Regions from separate parts of the Homo sapiens genome. Here regions 2, 3, 4, 5 and 6 are each linked to region 1. Evidence: promoter capture Hi-C in 16 types of primary human blood cells and fetal thymus (Javierre and others, 2016). All regions are on one chromosome and are shown on one strand. The core of a region is centred on a gene start or on the middle of the fragment in contact, and the rest is flanking DNA. Distances in the headings are between cores, read along the strand shown. Region 1 holds the start of RIC8B (RIC8 guanine nucleotide exchange factor B). Region 2 overlaps POLR3B (RNA polymerase III subunit B). Region 3 overlaps POLR3B (RNA polymerase III subunit B). Region 4 overlaps TCP11L2 (t-complex 11 like 2). Region 5 overlaps TCP11L2 (t-complex 11 like 2). Region 6 overlaps POLR3B (RNA polymerase III subunit B).

What was found. The method cuts DNA at HindIII sites, captures the fragments that hold promoters and counts their contacts. A CHiCAGO score of 5 or more calls a contact.
Region 2: a fragment that was not itself captured here is called in contact with the fragment with the promoter of RIC8B in region 1 in 1 of 17 cell types (naive CD4 T cells); the score reaches 5.0 in naive CD4 T cells.
Region 3: a fragment that was not itself captured here is called in contact with the fragment with the promoter of RIC8B in region 1 in 2 of 17 cell types (total CD4 T cells and naive CD4 T cells); the score reaches 5.5 in total CD4 T cells.
Region 4: a contact is called between a fragment that was not itself captured here and the fragment with the promoter of RIC8B in region 1, in 3 of 17 cell types (naive CD8 T cells, total CD8 T cells and fetal thymus). The highest score is 6.2, in naive CD8 T cells.
Region 5: a fragment that was not itself captured here is called in contact with the fragment with the promoter of RIC8B in region 1 in 1 of 17 cell types (fetal thymus); the score reaches 5.3 in fetal thymus.
Region 6: a contact is called between a fragment that was not itself captured here and the fragment with the promoter of RIC8B in region 1, in 6 of 17 cell types (activated CD4 T cells, total CD8 T cells, total CD4 T cells and 3 more). The highest score is 7.4, in activated CD4 T cells.

What each region holds. Positions count from the first base shown.
Region 1 is chr12:106,773,361-106,776,060 of GRCh38, forward strand. It overlaps RIC8B (RIC8 guanine nucleotide exchange factor B), which reads left to right and starts at 1,322. Exons shown (of 10, transcript NM_001330145.2): 1 at 1,322-1,469. The coding sequence starts at 1,386. LOC100287944 (a long non-coding RNA gene) reads right to left here and starts at 1,471. Exons shown (of 4, transcript NR_040246.1): 1 at 1,330-1,471. RefSeq lists enhancers at 471-1,022, 1,793-1,842 and a silencer at 1,233-1,462. The HindIII fragment of the contact is 11,909 bases long and covers 1-2,700 here.
Region 2 is chr12:106,482,638-106,485,371 of GRCh38, forward strand. All of the region lies in intron 23 of POLR3B (RNA polymerase III subunit B), which reads left to right. Among named protein-coding and RNA genes, the nearest start is that of RFX4, 99 kb to the right of the region's middle. The HindIII fragment of the contact is 1,821 bases long and covers 393-2,213 here.
Region 3 is chr12:106,437,367-106,440,142 of GRCh38, forward strand. POLR3B (RNA polymerase III subunit B) reads left to right here. Exons shown (of 28, transcript NM_018082.6): 18 at 315-413. Among named protein-coding and RNA genes, the nearest start is that of POLR3B, 81 kb to the left of the region's middle. The HindIII fragment of the contact is 4,381 bases long and covers 1-2,776 here.
Region 4 is chr12:106,334,764-106,337,789 of GRCh38, forward strand. It overlaps TCP11L2 (t-complex 11 like 2), which reads left to right. Exons shown (of 10, transcript NM_152772.3): 7 at 876-1,063; 8 at 1,269-1,450. Among named protein-coding and RNA genes, the nearest start is that of POLR3B, 21 kb to the right of the region's middle. The HindIII fragment of the contact is 195 bases long and covers 1,566-1,760 here.
Region 5 is chr12:106,314,815-106,317,731 of GRCh38, forward strand. The region is part of intron 3 of TCP11L2 (t-complex 11 like 2); the gene reads left to right. Among named protein-coding and RNA genes, the nearest start is that of TCP11L2, 14 kb to the left of the region's middle. The HindIII fragment of the contact is 668 bases long and covers 1,252-1,919 here.
Region 6 is chr12:106,360,298-106,362,997 of GRCh38, forward strand. All of the region lies in intron 1 of POLR3B (RNA polymerase III subunit B), which reads left to right. Among named protein-coding and RNA genes, the nearest start is that of POLR3B, 3.9 kb to the left of the region's middle. The HindIII fragment of the contact is 1,854 bases long and covers 403-2,256 here.

The DNA.
Region 1 (2,700 bases), core at 72-2,571:
AGGCAGGGACTTTACTTTGGGCCCACTGTATCCACACTGCATTTAACAGCACCTGGGCACAGCACAGGCTCTCAAATATTTGTTGAATGAATGTGTATGAAATTGATTGAGCTAACACAGGTGAAGTATTAACAGAGTGCCTGACACGTAATTACCACCGGGGCAATGGGAATCTTTGTCATCACCACCACCGCTACTGTATCGGTATTATTACAGTTCCCGGAGGTCGTAGAGCGGCCGCTTCGGGGGGAAAGGCCTGGTTTCAAACCTCGACTTTCCCATTCTCTGGCCGTGTGACTTAGGATAAATTACTGAAACTATTCGGGTTCCTTTTTATTTCCACAAAAATTTGTGTTGGGAGAATTAGAGGATATAGGGAAATTACCTAAGAGAGTCTGGAGCCCCGGTGGCACGAGATGCATGCTAGAGATTAGTATTAAGGCAGAAAATCGCCGAGTCCTCTTTTATCCAGATAACTGCCTTCAATTATTTCCCACATTACTGTAGCTGAGTACATAACAAGAACGCAAATAAGGGTGGAAGGAATTCCCGAGACCGAAACCGCTAAATGAGAAAAGGGAATTAAACCGTGCTTGACAGTTCCCACCAAGGGATGGCAGTTTCCGCGACCGTCGGCCAGTCCAGCCAGCCCAGCCAGCCGAGACTGAAGCAGGACAGTCAGCGACATAACGAACAAAACCGAAGCAGACGCTTAGACCCTCCCTCTAACGGTCTCCCCGCCGCTGGCCTCAGGCGGCCGCCAGACTCCCGTTTCCGGCCCTCGCGGTACCACAGTTCCCAGCATGCCCTTGGCGGGAATTCTTTCCGGCTGGATGACTACCAATCCCAGCATGCCATTCGGCACGCCAGTAAATTAGATGGAAGAGCGGGATAGCCCCATTGCATGCAGGGAATTGCAGTCCATTTAGCGGCTGGTTCATAGATGGGCGGGGAAGAGCCGGGTTGCTCTAGTCCTTTGAGAATGATTCATAGAGGAGGGTCAGGAAAGAAGAACGGTTCAGTCTGTGAAAGCCCCCTTAAAAGACTGGACAGTTCTCCGAGGGAGGGAGAGGCAGGAGAGCAAGCAGGGCCTTGGGCCTGACTCCGCCTCGGTCCGCTAGCCAGGCCTCGACCGAGTCCTGGGCCTTGTCAGGGGCGGCCGTGAGGCGCCGGTTGCTGGGGGAGCGGTGACGTCGCGGGGTGAAAGTTGAGGGGCGGTGACGTCGGGCCGGCCCGGGCGGAGGCTGGCGGGTTGGAGGCAGGACGGAGGGAGGGAAAGAGGGAAGGAAGGAAGCTGGGAAGGAGCGAGCGGGGGCGCGAGGCGTTTACCTGGAGGCAGCGGCTTGGGCGCGCAGAGCGGCCGCGGCTCCCCCGCACCTGCGGCCATGGATGAGGAGCGCGCCCTCTACATCGTCCGGGCCGGCGAAGCAGGGGCTATCGAGCGGGTCCTGAGGGATTACAGCGACAAGGTAAAGAGTCCTGGCCCCGGGCGTGCGGTATCGCACCCCCGGGCCGCCCTCCGTGCTTGCACATCGCATCCTTCCCCACCCCCCTCATTCCGGGGATGCGCATTGCTCTCCCCCGAAAACGTTTCCGGCTTGGGCATGCGTGTTTGTGCCCCCAGCCTTTTCCATCCATGCATCCTGCATCCCACTACCCCCACTGTAGCGCCCACTCCTCTGATTCCTGGCCCAGCAGCTTGACCTCCGGTCCTCCTCTCAAGCGTGCAAGTCACACCCCCGGAATCCGTAGATGTGCATCTGTGCCCCGTGCCCCACTCCTGGATGCATAAATGCATGAGAGGCTTCCTCACCTGTATAGCATAAAAATACGTGCTTCCCTGCATAAACACGGCCCTTGACATGCATCAAATGTATCAGCAACGATGGCAGTTTCTATACGTTTAGCACTGTACGGTTTTCAAGGCATTGATGTCTCATCTATGGTCTCCTTTGATCCTCAGAGTGTTTATAGGGTAGATGGTATCATCCTCCCCATTTTATAGATGAGGAAACCGAGGTGCAAAGAGCTGAAATCACGCCCAAGGTCATGGACATATAATGTTGTAAGTGGGTGGAGAATGTAACTCCTAATGATACCTGTTATTTGTATCGCATTAACAGCTTTCCTATCCATTATCTTATTTAATCTTACAGCAATCCTGTGAGGTATTATCTGCATTTTGCAATTGAGACTCTAGATTGGTTAAGTAACTTGCCCAAGGTCATACTTGGAGCTGGTATTCCAGTTTAGTTCTTTCCACTTCACAACTCTGCGTAAAAGAGTATCTTGTTATAAATCCCAGTCACTTCTCAGAACCTCTTTCCAAGAACCGTTAGCTCTTCATTACTTTTCCTTCCAGGAATTTTACATGCTCACTTCAAAAGATAGCCTACCACACCTTTATCCTTTGGTTTAGAAGACTGCTTTATAGGAATGACTGGCGACTCCCTTCTGTGAAAACACACCCAACACCAAGTCACAACCTAGCTGTTAATGTTTTTCTTTCTTTTGCCCCCGTACATCGTCTCCCCTTCAGTGTTTGCTTTGTGTCCACCACTGCATCCATCCACTTTGTATTACTGACAATTGGTGTCTTATTTTTGAATCTTTTCCACCCGGGGCAGAAATGGCATACTGGTGGCTGAATTCCCGTTTAATCTTCCCAACAACCCTGGGAGGAGAGTGATGGTATTCCCC
Region 2 (2,734 bases), core at 53-2,552, 290 kb before region 1:
CTGGGGATTTGACACGAGATTTGGGTGGGGACACAAATCTAAACCATATCACTTAGGTAAGTATATTTTAGGTTCGTTGAGATTAGGAAACATGCCCTGCTGATTTACTTAACCCCAAAGCACCCAGCATAGCACTTTGCATATAATATGGTATCCACTTATGATGTTTGAGGAATCCTTTATTAAATAAAGGATTTTACATATTCATTGGTCTTGTTGGAAATTGTACTGACATAACAAGCCAAACTCACTACTCCCAGAATAAGTGTAATTTATTCTTCCTAGTAAATATCAGAAATGAGATGCCTCATTTTTATCTAAACTGGCACCAGGAGTTTCAACACCTAAGACTCATAGCTCCCCAACCCTAACTGATCACACAGGCCCACTAAAGCTTCTTCAGCCATAATAACTAAATATAGTTATCCCTCAGTATATGCTGGGAATTGGTTCCAGGACCCCTGCATATATTCAAGTCCCACAGTTGGGCCTGTAAAACCCAAATATATGAAAAGTTGTCCCTCTGTGGAGAAGGGCTCACATTCCGCAAATGCTGTATTTTCGATTCATATCTCATTGAAGAAAAATCCCCATATAAGTGGACCTGCACAGTTAAGACCTGTGTTATTCAAGGGTCAACTGTATACATGCCCACCCACGTCCATCCCAGGCACAAATGAGAACCTGCCTTGACAGCCCCAGGGAAACCTATTCGGTCATTTTTAAGTTACTGTTGTGGGCTCAAAACTGTGTGGGGCACTTTAGGGGATAGAAAGTAAATTAATCCCTTGACTAATGCCCATGAGGAGTTGACTGACACCTGAAGCAAAAAGATGGATACGAAGGATTACATAGTTAAATGCTAAATTATATGGGAGAAACCACTAAAAATATAGAGGTTTAGAGTTTACCATAGATAGGAATAGAATCTTAGAGTTTGAAAAGTCCTTTTAGAAGTCCAGTCTAAATCCATCTTCTAGTATAAGAGTTCTTTTTAGATTATCTTTGGCAGATGGTTTTCCATGTTGATTGTGGCCTGTGAAGGGAGGCCCTTGCTATTTTCTGAGGCAGCCTCTTCTGTAGTAGCACTGCTCTGATAGTTTTCTTGAGTCAGAGGTGCTCAAGAGTTAGTAAGAGTGCTCAAGAGTCTATAAGTTACTGCAGTTAGTCCTGCCTTGTCTTGTGGGCCATACTGAATGAACATATTGCCTTTTCATCACAGCCATCCTCTGTTCAGTATTTAAAGAAAGCCCTCGGATTGACGAAAAGTATAGCAGAGAGAGAAAGGTCTTGAACTCCAACTAGGTGAACTATTTTGTCCCTTTATGTCTTGGCCTCCTTGATACTAATGTGTAAAAGCAGGGAACACAGTGCCTGATGCACAGACAGGAGGCAGTAAAGGTGAGCTGCGGGCAGGTCTGTCTTGGGTCTTCTCTTGCAGGCTGCCTGGTAAAGGAAGCCCTCAGAGACTAGATGGGGTTCAGGCTTAGAGGGCTTTGATAAAGATGTGAAAGAAAAACAGGGGGCAGCAGAGAAGAGCAAATGAATGGACTTGACTGACTGAAATAAAGACAGCATAAAGAAGAAAAACCACGGGGACTGTGGTTTTAATCCGGTAAACGATGGCACCAATCACAAAGCATTTGTGTCTCACTGACTTGAGATGGTGAGATGATGGAAGATCATCTCGAGTGCCTATATTGTTGATTAATTCATCCATTTATTGAGCTTTCACTGTGTGCCAAGCACTGTTCTAAATACTGGAAATACAGAGGTAAACAAGACTGATGGGGTCTCTGTTCTCCCGGGATTTGTGTTCTCCTTGGGGAGGAAACAGACAAAAAAGAAGTAAACAAAAATATAAACCCCAACTACTTAGTAGGCTGAGGCAGGAGGATCACTTGAGCCCAGGAGTTTGAGACCAGCCTGGGCAGTATAGCAAGACTCCATTTCAAGAAAAAAAAGTGTAAACAAAAATATAAACAGGATAATTGAAGGTAATGATAAGTGCCATATATGAAGAATGATATAAAAGAGTGGATGGTTTAGAGGTGGGGGTGTGTACTTTAGATTACGATCAGGAACAGCCTCTCGGAGGAAGCGACATTGAGCTGAGACACGAAGGATACAAAGGAGCCAGCCGAGCAAAAGTCTGGGAGGATTTAGTTATAGGCAGAGAGAATCATTAGGGTAAGAGTTCTGAGGCACGAATAAGCTTGGTATATTCAAGGAACAGAAAAAAGGCCAGTCTGGCCAGGCATATGCCTGACAAGCAGCACAGTATGAGACTTGGGGAGTGACAGAAGGATGATGGGGGCATATCCTATAGGGCCTTTTGGCTAAAAGAAAGGAGATTGGACTTTACTCCAGATATGCTGGGAACCAACAGAACCGTTGGATGGTGGGTGTCTTGGTCCATTTTCTGCTGCTATGACAAAATACCACTGACTGGATAATTTATAAAGAAAAGAAGTTTATTTGGCTTATGGTTCTAAAGACTTGGAAGTGGAGGAGCGTGGCACCAGCATCTGGAGAGGATCATCCCGTGGCAGACAGGCAGAGGGGCAGGAGAGCTTGCTTTTATAACCAAACCAGTCCTGAGATAAGTAACCCAAGTCTGTAATAATGGCATTAATCCATTCATGGGAATGGAGTCCTTATGACCTAACCACCTCTTAAAGGCCCCATATCAATTAAATCTCAACATGAGTTTTTGTGGGTACATACAAACCAT
Region 3 (2,776 bases), core at 14-2,513, 340 kb before region 1:
AAAGGACTTACATCATGTGTCAGTGTAGACACTGTGGGTCTCATTATGAGGTTTCTAAGGTCAGAATTTTTTTTTTAAGAAGTGGGGACTAGGTTCACAAGAGTTACAGACAGACACTTTGCTGTTTTTATTTCAGCAGTTTGTGGTTACTGTGTGAGCTAAGAATAACATGTTTCAGGTATCCCAATGTAATGATATTCTCTGGGAGAGAAAGGTGCTTTGGGCCTAAACGAAAGCCAGTATCTCCTGTTATTATATAAAATACTGCAGAAAAATGCTTTTTAATGATGTCTCTTTCACCAATATTTTCCCAGGAATTTTGAAGATTTCTTACATGAGAGTCTGGTTGAATATTTAGATGTGAATGAAGAAAATGATTGTAACATTGCACTGTACGAACACACAATTAATAAGTAAGTAGGATCCATAGCAACCATAATTAAAACGTGTTCTGACTATAGAAACTACCTTCTCTTTTACTGTCATCTTCAGTCCTTCTATCTTTTACTCTTTTGACAGGAACTGTTAGAAATATACAATCTTCTTTTTTTTGTTTGAACATGCAGGTTTGTTACATAGGTAAACGTGGGCCATGGTGGTTTGCTGTACCTATCAACCCATCACCTAGGTATTAAGCCCAGCATGCATTAGCTATTTATCTTGATGCTCTTCCTCCCCCAACCCCCTAACAGTCCCCCTGGTGTGTGTTGTTCCCCTCCCTGTGTCCATGTGTTCTCATTGTTCAGCTTCCACCTGTGAGTGAGAACATGCGGTGTTTGGTTTTCTGTTCCTGTGTTAGTTTGCTGAGGATGGCTTCCAGCTTCATCCATGTCTCTGCAAAGGACATGATCTTGTTCCTTTTTATGACTGCATAGTATTTCATGGTATATATGTATATTGTATATTTCTGTATGTACCATAAAGAAATATACAATTTTATAGCAGAGCATAACGCATCATTTATCCTAGTGAAGAGTATTACAAAGCAGCTAACAAGTCATCTTTAGATTTAATTATCCTTCCTATTCGTGTGACAGTTTATATATATACACACACACACTCATAGAAAGATATATCCATATATCCATATAGATAGATAACCATATATATATATGTATATAAAACCATATATATGTTTTTTTTTTTTTGAGACAAGGTCTTGCTCTGTCACCCTGAAGGAGTACAGTGGCACAACATAGCTCAGTGAAACTTAAAACTCCTGATCTCAAGTGATCCTCCCACTTCAGTCTCCTGAGTAGTTGGGATTACAGGCATGAGCCACCATGCCCAGCCTTAATGTGTATTTTTTAAAAGGAGTTGCTTCTCTGATTTTAATACTTGATTACTGCCAAAGTTGAACTAATGAATCAAGCTGTATAAAAATATACTTACCTCTGTTAGAGATGATTTTTGTCCATGGACATCTGAATTCTTGTCAGTGCAGGAATTCTCTACATAGTCTGTTCAAAAACTCTAAGTTTATGTGCAGTATGCACTTGAATTGGTAGTATGTTCACAATATTTCTTCTTGAACAATGATATTTTTAGAAGCATCTGTGTTCCATTTTAGAGTACATTAAAGAACATCTATGTAACTTGCTGTCTGATGCATGTGACTGATGTACCACTTACCTGAAATTGGAATTCTTGCAGATATATTGCTAGAGAGTTTAATACTACCACCTAATAACTATTTATGTCTTCAATCAAGAATAAGTACTTTTCTGACCCAGTGTAATGGCTCACCCCTATAATCCCAGTGCTTTGGGAGACTGAGGCAGGAGAATCGCCTGAGGCCAAGAGTTTGAGACCAGCCTGGACAACATAGCAAGACCCTATGTCTAAAAATAAAAATAAAAAATTAGCTGGACACAGTGGCACACACCTGTAGTCCTAGCTACTTGGGAGGCTGAGGTGGAAGGATCATTTGAGCCCAGGAGTTATGGGTTACACTGAGCTATGATTGTGCCACTGCACTCCAGCCTGGGTAAGAACCTATCTCTTAAAACAGGAAAAAGAAAAACTTTTCTGTTTTCTGCTACCAAATGAAATATATTACTTTTTAGAAGATTATAATTTACCAGCCTGGGTAACATGGCAAGACCCCGTCTCTACAAAAAACTTAAAAATTAGCCAGGTGTGGTGATGTACGCCTGTAGTCCCAGTAACTCAGGGGGCTGAGGCTAGAGGATTGCATGAGTCCAGGAGGTGGAGGCTCTGTGAGCCATGTTCATGCCACTGCACTCCAGCCTGGGTGACAAAGCAAACCCTGTTGCCAATATATATATTGCAAATATATATATTTTTTGCACTTTGTAAATAGTGGTTTTTGGTCAGAATTTTTCTTCCTTAAAGATGTGAATCTCTCAAAGTGCTATTTTATACCCCTCATTTCAAAATTGACTGAGGGCCAGGTGTGGTGGGTCACACCTATAATCCCAGCAATTTGGGAGGCTAAGGCATGAGGGTTGCTGGAGCTCAGGAGTTTGAGATCAACCTGGGCAACACAGTGAGACCTCATCTCTACTAAAAATAAAAAAAAGTTAGCCAAGTGTTGTGGTGTGCACCTATGATCCCAGCTACTTGGGAGGCTGAGGTGGAAGGATCACTTGAGCACAGTTTGAGGCTGCAGTGAGCTATACTTGGAACACCACTGCATTCCAGCTTGGGCGAGAGAGTGAGACCCTTACTCAAAAAAAATATAGATATAGATATGTATCCTGAGTATAAAAGAAAACTATTTTATAGTAGCCCCATAAATGACAGTTCCATCGTT
Region 4 (3,026 bases), core at 413-2,912, 440 kb before region 1:
AACCCCATCTCTACTAAAAATACAAAAATTATCTGGGTGTGGTGGTGCACGCCTGTAGTCCCAGCTACTCAGGAGGCTGAGGCAGGAGAATCGCTTGAACATGGGAGGTGGAGGTTGCAGTGAGCTGAGATTGCCCCACTGCACTCCAGCCTGGGTGACAGAGTGAGACCCCGTCTTAAAAAAAAAGAAAAGAAAGAAAATAATATTATTCAAAACTCCCCATTCCCATCGCTGGTGTTTGTAACCTGGGGACTGTCAATCTGGTAAGAGAGAATGACAATTGTTTGTGGACATGTGCACGTGATTGTGCACATTCACTTTGGGAAAGGCATATCTCCAATTAGTTATTAAAAGTGGTCCAAGACCCAAAAATGTGTAATAATTATACTCTATTTTCTCTTCAGATTGTATAAATCTTTCACCTTTTACCAAAAATGTGTGAAAATTAATGCCTTTTCTCTAAATACCTTCTCTGCACAAACTCAAGGCTGGCTTCTAACCACCCATCCAATGCCATTTGCTACAACCCTCTTACCCCTAGTTCTTTATGGACCAGCAATACAGATTTGTTTGTGGCATCCAGAATGTGACATCTAGAATGTGCCATATGCTGTCTTTTCCAGAGCACTTACAGAGCTCTTCCTCTTAGATTCTTTCCTGGACAGCCTCTTTCCCACAATTACTAGCATTCATTGTACTCTGTTATAATTGTTAGTTTACAGGTCTGCCTTTCCATCTGGACTGTAAACTCCTTGCAGGGCATGGCTGTGTCTTCTCATTCATGCCCAGCACCCAACACAGCATCTGTCAAGTGGAATACACCAGTGAAGGGATCAATCAGCTGTAGAACAAATATGTGGCCTTTTCACTCTTAGGTGCTCTTGATCAGACTACAGAATGGATAAAAGAATCTGTAAATGAAGAATTATTTTCTCTTTCTGAGAGTGCTTTAACTCCTGGGGCCGAAAATACCTCCAAGCCAAGCCTGAGCCCTACTTTGGTGCTAAATAATAGTTACTTGAAACTGTTACAGTGGGATTATCAGAAAAAAGAATTACCAGAGGTGAGTGGTTTTGTTCTTCACCCAAATTTCCCAGTATTTTTATTCTTAAGTTCTAACTTTGAATCATCTGGTCTGTGTTTCATGTGGTTTAATGACTTTACAAAAATCAGATAAAAATGGGAATTTGGAAATGACATTGCCTGTTTTGTATTTTCATGCTATTGAGCTACCCTTTCTATTTTTATATTTTAAATAAATATGTTAGACACTTATGACAGATGGAGCACGTCTTCAGGAACTAACAGAAAAGCTGAATCAATTGAAAATTATTGCCTGCCTGTCCCTAATTACCAACAACATGGTGGGTGCTATTACAGGAGGCCTGCCTGAGCTTGCAAGCAGGTTAACAAGGATTTCAGCTGTTCTACTTGAAGGCATGAACAAAGAGTAAGTTCCAAATTTTTGCATCTGCTCCCTCTTGTATTAAGGCTCTGCATGTGTCTCAGAGAACAAGAATGACCTTGGACATCTGGATGTGAGATTCAGGACTGTGCTTTAGAGAAGCTTATCTTACACCTTTTTCTAGAATTTCCTTTAATATCTCTGAAGGCTTAGATGTCCTCTCATAGGAAGGGAGAGGTGTTTTCCATGACAAGTGCCAGGGTGAGTGTAGTATTTCCACTTACAATGAATGTGTACAACAGCTTTTCTTTGACAGTGCTTTGGAAAAAAACAAATGAAACACAGAAATCTGCCAAGCTTGATGTTTAGAATTGCGCAATTTTTTTTTTTTTTTTTTTTTTTTGAGACAGAATCTCGCTCTGTCACCAGGCTGGAGTGCAGTGGCGCAATCTCAGCTCACTGCAACCTCCGCCTCCCGGGTTCAAGCAATTCTTCTGCCTCAGCCTCCCAAGTAGCTGGGACTACAGGCATGCGCCGCCACGCCCAGCTAATTTTTGTATTTTTAGTAGAGACCGGGTTTCACCATGTTGGCCAGGATGGTCTCGATCTCTTGACCTCATGACTCACCCATCTCGGCCTCCCTAGAATTGTGCTATTGAAGAGGGCTTTCCTCCAGTTGTTCTGACTTCATCATTTTTCTGCAGTGAAATGTTTACTGACTTCACAAATCCACCTTGCTACGAAGTCTTCAGAAGTGCTGACAATTCTGCCCTTCAGAGATGTGACACAGTCCAGTGAAGATTTTGGTTTTTGCTAAATTTATCTCCAGTATTACACCTTCATGAATGCTAGAATCCCATTTAGATTTTGCATTTACATCATCCAATAGGAATTCCTATCTAAGTCAGAAATTCTTAGTCTTGGTGAATGGCCAGATGGTTCTATGGGTCTCTTATGGATCAGCTTCTGCTGGTTCCCCTTTCAGGTGTCTTCAGAGGCATGTCCTCTTTATTCCTGTAATTGAAGGGAAATGCACCTGTCTTCTCATCCTCCCACCTATTATTCAGAGAGCATATAAATTACTTGATGAAATCCTAGACTATTAAGAGCCAAAAGGAGCCCATGTAGTTACAGAATCCAACTTCTCATTTTGAACTGAAGCTTACAGATAGAATAGAATTTGCCTTGGGCTGCAAACAGAAAAGGGCAGACCAAGGACTGAGCCCTGATCTGACCTTTCTCCTGATTCTGATGCTCATTAATATTCCAGGACCAAGACCTATAATGAAAGGAAACCTCTGATTTTGCAGTTGGTCTTATCTTATGATTTCCCTGCATGGGTAGTCATTACTTTCCAGAAACTTTTATTTATTAAGCCTTTAGGGAATACCCAGTGCTGCTGAAATGTTATTATAAAGTATACAGAAAGTGGTTACTAAGAAGACAGGCTTTCGGGTCAGATGGACCAGGGTTTAAATCCCAGCTCTGCTACTGACTTATTATGAACACTTGAATATGTTCTCAAATTACTATGAGCCTGACTTCCTCACTTGTAAGAAGGGAATAATAATTGTATTAATATCTACCTTGGAGTTGTGAGAACTTAAGATGATTCAGGTAC
Region 5 (2,917 bases), core at 336-2,835, 460 kb before region 1:
CAAAGCAAGACCCCATCTCTGTAAAAAATAAAAATAAAAATATTATCCAGCATGGTGGCATGAGCCTGTAATTACAGGTACCGGGGAGGCTGAGTCAAGAAGATCATTTGAGCCCAGGAGTTCAGGGACTGCAGTGAGCTCTCATCATGCCACTACACTCCAGCCTGGGTGACAGAGCAAGACCCTGTCTCAAAAAAAAAAAAAAAAAATTCCTGTTTGTGACCAGCCCGGCCAACGTGGTGAAACCTCACCTCTACTAAAAACACAAAAATTAGCCGGCCATGGTGGTGGGGCGCGTGTAATCCCAGCTACTTGGGAGGCTGAGGCAGGAGAATTGCGTGAACCCAGGAGGTGGAGGTTTCAGTGAGCCGAGATCGCACCACTGCACTACAGCCTGCGCAACAGAGTACTCCGTCTCAAAAAACAAAAACAAAAACAAACAAACAAAAAAATTCCCCTAGGATACATATTACCCATAATCTTTAGAACTCAGTTTATATGTCACTTCCTGAGGGAAGCTTTTTCTGACATTGGTGAACCCCCTAGACTACAATTAATCCCTTTGCTACAGACACCTGTAGCCCTTGCTGCCTCCTTTTTGTTAAGAGGTCTTATAATTTTATGTTTGATGTCCATCTTCCCCACTTGATTGAAATGCACTATTTATGGAGGAGCTATGTCTGTATTGTTTGTTGCTGTATCCCTATTGTCTAGCATAGTGCCTGACATACAGTACAGGCTCAAGACATATTTGCACATTGATTTATGGAAAACTGATACTCAGGTTCTGAAGAATAAATAAATGCACCTGAACTGTCAAAGTGCTAAAAGCAGGCAATCCAGAAATGTCTGGAGGTAGGAATCACAGCTGCAAGAGGCACTTCCTGGTTAACCTCGCCCTCCGACCTCTAGTTGGAGCCACCCCTTTGGATCCTACTTCAGCCTTTCTGGAGTCAGTGGCTCACAGGTTTCCTGAGACAAAGAGAAGAGGCTTGAGACTATTATTACAGATCAGTCGTCTTTAGAAGCAAAGTTGGTTCGTGGATTGAATTTTCAACCTTACAGTACCAATTATAAATCCTGAGGCATTCTATCAGTTAAGACAACTTAGAATATTTGATCCCATTCAGAACTTTTTCATTTGTTTTAAAGCAGGAAAAGTAAAGGAAGTCAATGTAATAACTCTTCTTCTTTAAAATGTGGATCATAGTCCTCTTGGGGATGTTGTTCATTTAATATTAACATTTTTTAAGCTTGCCATGTATCGTGGGTGTATCTGTTTGGTTTCCTTTGGTAACTTGCATTTTGCCATGACCCTTGATACCAGCTCTACTGCTACAGCCCTAGGCTAGGCCACCGTCATCTGTGGCCTGGACCCTTTCAGTCCTAACTGGTTGCCGTGTCTCCTTTCTTAGCCCCCAACAGTTCATCTTCCATATCCAGTAGCCTTAATGATGTTTTTAAAGAATGAGCTATATTAGATGATTTCTTTGCCAAAAACTCTTCAATGGTTTTCACTTACTCAGAGACCAAAAATCTAAGCATTTTCCTATGGCCTGGATGGCCCCACTCCCCTGACCCCATCTCAGTGCTGTCCCTCCTGCTTGCTGTGCTTCAGCCACACTGGCTTCCTTCCTTACCTCAGGGTTCACCAATCTGGATCTTGTCTCATAAACTTTGTTCCTCTGACTTCTTCTTTTTGAATGTTCTTTTCCCAGACCTTCACATGGCTCTTTGCTCTCCCCTTCTGAGTCTGAACACAAAGGTCACTGACTTAAAGAGGCTTTTTCCCACCATCCAGTGAAATCAGCACCCTCTCTGTAACTGTGTACCACATTGTCTTATTCTTTCTCATAGGTCTGAAATTGTCGTATTCATTTTTAATGTATTTTTTGCCTTTTTGTCCCTGCTAACATATAAGCTTTTTGAGGTCAGAGACTTTCTTTTCACTGTAGTATTCCCAGTTCCTAAAACAGGGCCCTACACATATTGGATGTTTAATAAACATTTATTGACTAATACAAATGAATTTTTTGAGATGGAGTCTTGTTTTAAAGTTAAAATTTGTATTTTTTATGAGGTAAAGCAAAAGACAGGGCATATCTGTACTTTAAATTCAAAAGTGGCGAGTACAGGCCATAGTGAAGGCATTTTAGGCTCAGACAGACTGTGGGGTTTGAATCCTGGCTTTGCTGAGACCATACCTGAACCTCACACTTCCCAAGAATAAGAAGGGGGCTACACTACTCACTTCAAATGCATACTCACTAGCATAAAAGTGCCTTGCACATAAATACTTTGATACTATGGAAAATATTAATCTCTCTTCCCTTCAGTTTCTGCCATGGCTAGAAAATGTGAGCAAGGGAAACAAAGTACAGAGTTAGGACACATTGCCTTTGTTTAAAGATAAAGTCTTAGCCGGGCGCAGTGGCTCACACCTGTAATCCCAGCACTTTGGGAGGCTGAGGTGAGCAGATCACCTGAGGTCAGGAGTTTAAGACCAGCCTGCCCGACGTGGTGAAACCCTGTCTCTACTAAAAGTACAAAAATTAGCTGGGTGTGGCAGTGCATGCCTGTAATCCCAGCTACTTGGGAGGCTGAGGCATGAGAATCACTTGAACCTGGGAGGCGGAGGCCGCAGTAAGCTGAGACTGCGCCACTGCACTGCAGCCTGGGCGACAGAGTGAGACTCTGTCTCAGAAAAAAAGAGATATACTTATCAAATTATGAATTCATTCACCATGCATGCATTTGTTAAGCAGTCACTATATATCAGGCACTGTACTAGGCACAATGGTAAGTACCTACCTGGAGGACTTATGGCCTCTGCTTAGGAAAGGTATATAGCTCTGTGGGGAAAGAGCCTCGTCAGTAATTACAGTGGAGGGACATGTGGTTTTCTAAAAACTATTGC
Region 6 (2,700 bases), core at 80-2,579, 410 kb before region 1:
ATGTTTGTAATAAATTTCCTCAGTCTGACCAGTGCTTACTTCTCTAGTCTCTTTTCCCATGGTTCCCCCCTCTCCCTCCCCTGAGATCTTTCTACTCTGCTCAGTTTCTTCTGGATCGCTCTCCCCTTCCTATTTGTAGATTAAATCCCACATATCTATAATATAACTTCCCTAGGAAGGCCTTTCCTGATTCTCCCAGAAGATGGTAGATCTCTGCTACTTGCTGCCATTTCCTTTTAAATTGAGATATTAAAATATTTACTTAAACTTTCCAACTTCAGTGTTTTCGCTGCAACTTTTTCTAGTTAGGAGCTCAGTTTTACTTGAACTGGCCATGCCTGGTGTGTATTTTTTTGTGCTTATGGTAGCACAGCAGCATGGTAGTATGGTAGAAACAACACAAGCTTTGGAGCCAATTAATCAGTTACTTGTTGAATAAATATTTGTCAGTGTTACTGAGTACTTACCTGGTGGTGTATTATTCACAGGGTTTATACAAGTTCAAAAAATGTGTTTTCTGCCTCCCAGTGTGTTATAGGCTTATAGAGAGAGACGTGTAAGCAAGTGGAATAACATGCAATAGGTACTGTGATACAAGTAGGCGAGGGGTATTTTGGTATTACAAATGGTAGCTAGGATGTGATGCCTGAACTGAGTTTGCCAGATGTGGATGAAGTGTGGTGGTGCGGAAGCATTCCAGATAGAAGGAGGAGGCGTAGGCACAAGTACAGCTGCAAGCACAGCATATGATGTATGCCTCGCTGTGGAGTTAAGACATGGTGAAGAGGGTGGGGAGGCACTGAAGAGTTGTAGAGAATGAGGTGCTCAGCTGTGCACATGAGGACATGTACACTGGCTTTAGTGCTGAGCATTGAAAGGGACGAGCAGGAAGAGTAGTAAGGAAGTATTGCCGCAGACCAGCTGAAAGATTATGAGGGCCTCAACTGGCACAGGAGCAGAGGATAAATGCGAGGAAGGTTAAAAGGAGGTCGACTCAGTAGAATTTTTGTTTTCCTGTTGATTAAGAAGAGTCAGAAAGTTAGGACTCCCGGGTATCTAATTTGGGATTGACTGGGATAAATGGTGATATTCATTGAGATTGAGAATGGAGCTGGGGGAAGATTTAATTTTGGACATACTGATCTTAAGTAGCCTCTGAGGCTGTAAGGTATCACTGCCCAGTCAATAGTTGGAGGGGACAGGCCCATACCCAGTAGCTTACTGCAACAGTGATATTCACTCACTCATTTATTTATTCAGTATTTATTGGAGTCTTTTATGTGCCAGGCACTGTGGTAACAGGATAGACAGGGTCACTGCCCTTGAAAGAGCCCACATTTGGAACTGGGGGGCTGTGGGATGAGATGGGGGAAGCTAAACAACACTTTCAAACAGTGTTGTTTGAAATCCTCCATTCCCAGCCCTACTTGAGAAAAGACATCGCCAGGGATAGAACTTTGAAGAACACCAAAATTTGCAGGGTGGCAGAGAAAAAGAGGTGTGACAAGGCCCGGCCGGAGGAAGGAAAGACATAAGAGAATGATACCACAGAGTGTTATAAGACAGTGATCGGCATGGCCAAATACTGTGGAAAGGGAATGTGAGGGGGCATCAAGGGAGGTCTTTTGAAGTAGCAGCCTTGGTGACCTCTGTCGAGCTCTTTCACTGGCAGGTAGGTCAGAGTCCTGACTATAACGGAATGAAGGAGTGGGAAGTGAGGAACAGAGAAGCTAAATATGGAGTAATTTGGGAGAGATCGTAAGCTGAAGGGCAGGGAAGAAAGTAGTCAGAGGAGCTGCTGAGTCAAGAAAGTTTTAAATTTTTTTTTTAATGGGAGGATTTGAATACTCGTTTTAAATAGAACAGGTTGAATATCAAGGACTGAACTGGGGCAAGGTTTCCAGTCTTCAGGAGAAGGTTGGCAGGATTGTGTCTGTGGCGGAAGGGTTAGCCTTAGACCAAGGAATGGATGGTCCTTCCTTTGAAGTGGGAGGAAACGAGTATAAGAAGGGGTGTAGAGAGAGGAATTTGAAGATGTGGGAGTATTAGCTCATAGGGCTGCCGTAACAAAGTAACCACAAACTAGGTGGCTTAAACAACAGAAATTTGTTTTCTCATAGTTCTGGAAGTTAGAAGTCTGAGATCAGGGTGACAACAGAGCTGGCTCCTTCTGAGGGCTATGAGAGAGGATCTGCTCTGGGCCGTCCCCTACTACAGGTGTTTGCTGGCAATCTTTGGCATCCCTTGGCTTGCAGAAGCTTCACTGAGACCTCTACCTTCATCTTCACATGGCATTGTCCCTGTGTGCATCTCTATGTCCAATTTCTCCTTTTTTATAAGGACACCAGTTGTATTGGATTAGGGCTCACCTTAATGACTCATTTTACTTAATCACCTTTGTCAAGACCCCATCTTCAAAAACAGTCACATTCTGAGATACTGGGGATTAGGACTTTAGCATATGAATTTTGAGAGGGACACAATTCAACCTATATCATTGTCATTCTTCTATTTTTAAATTTAGGTGTAATTTATATAATAAAATGTATGGATACTAGATATTCAGTTACATTGGTTTTATAGTTATGTGCTCTATGTGGACATTGCATCACCCCAGAAAGTTCCCTTATGACCCTTTTCAGTCTATCCCCCCAAGCACCTTTTGATTTCCGTCATCATAGATTAGCTTTGCCTGCCTCT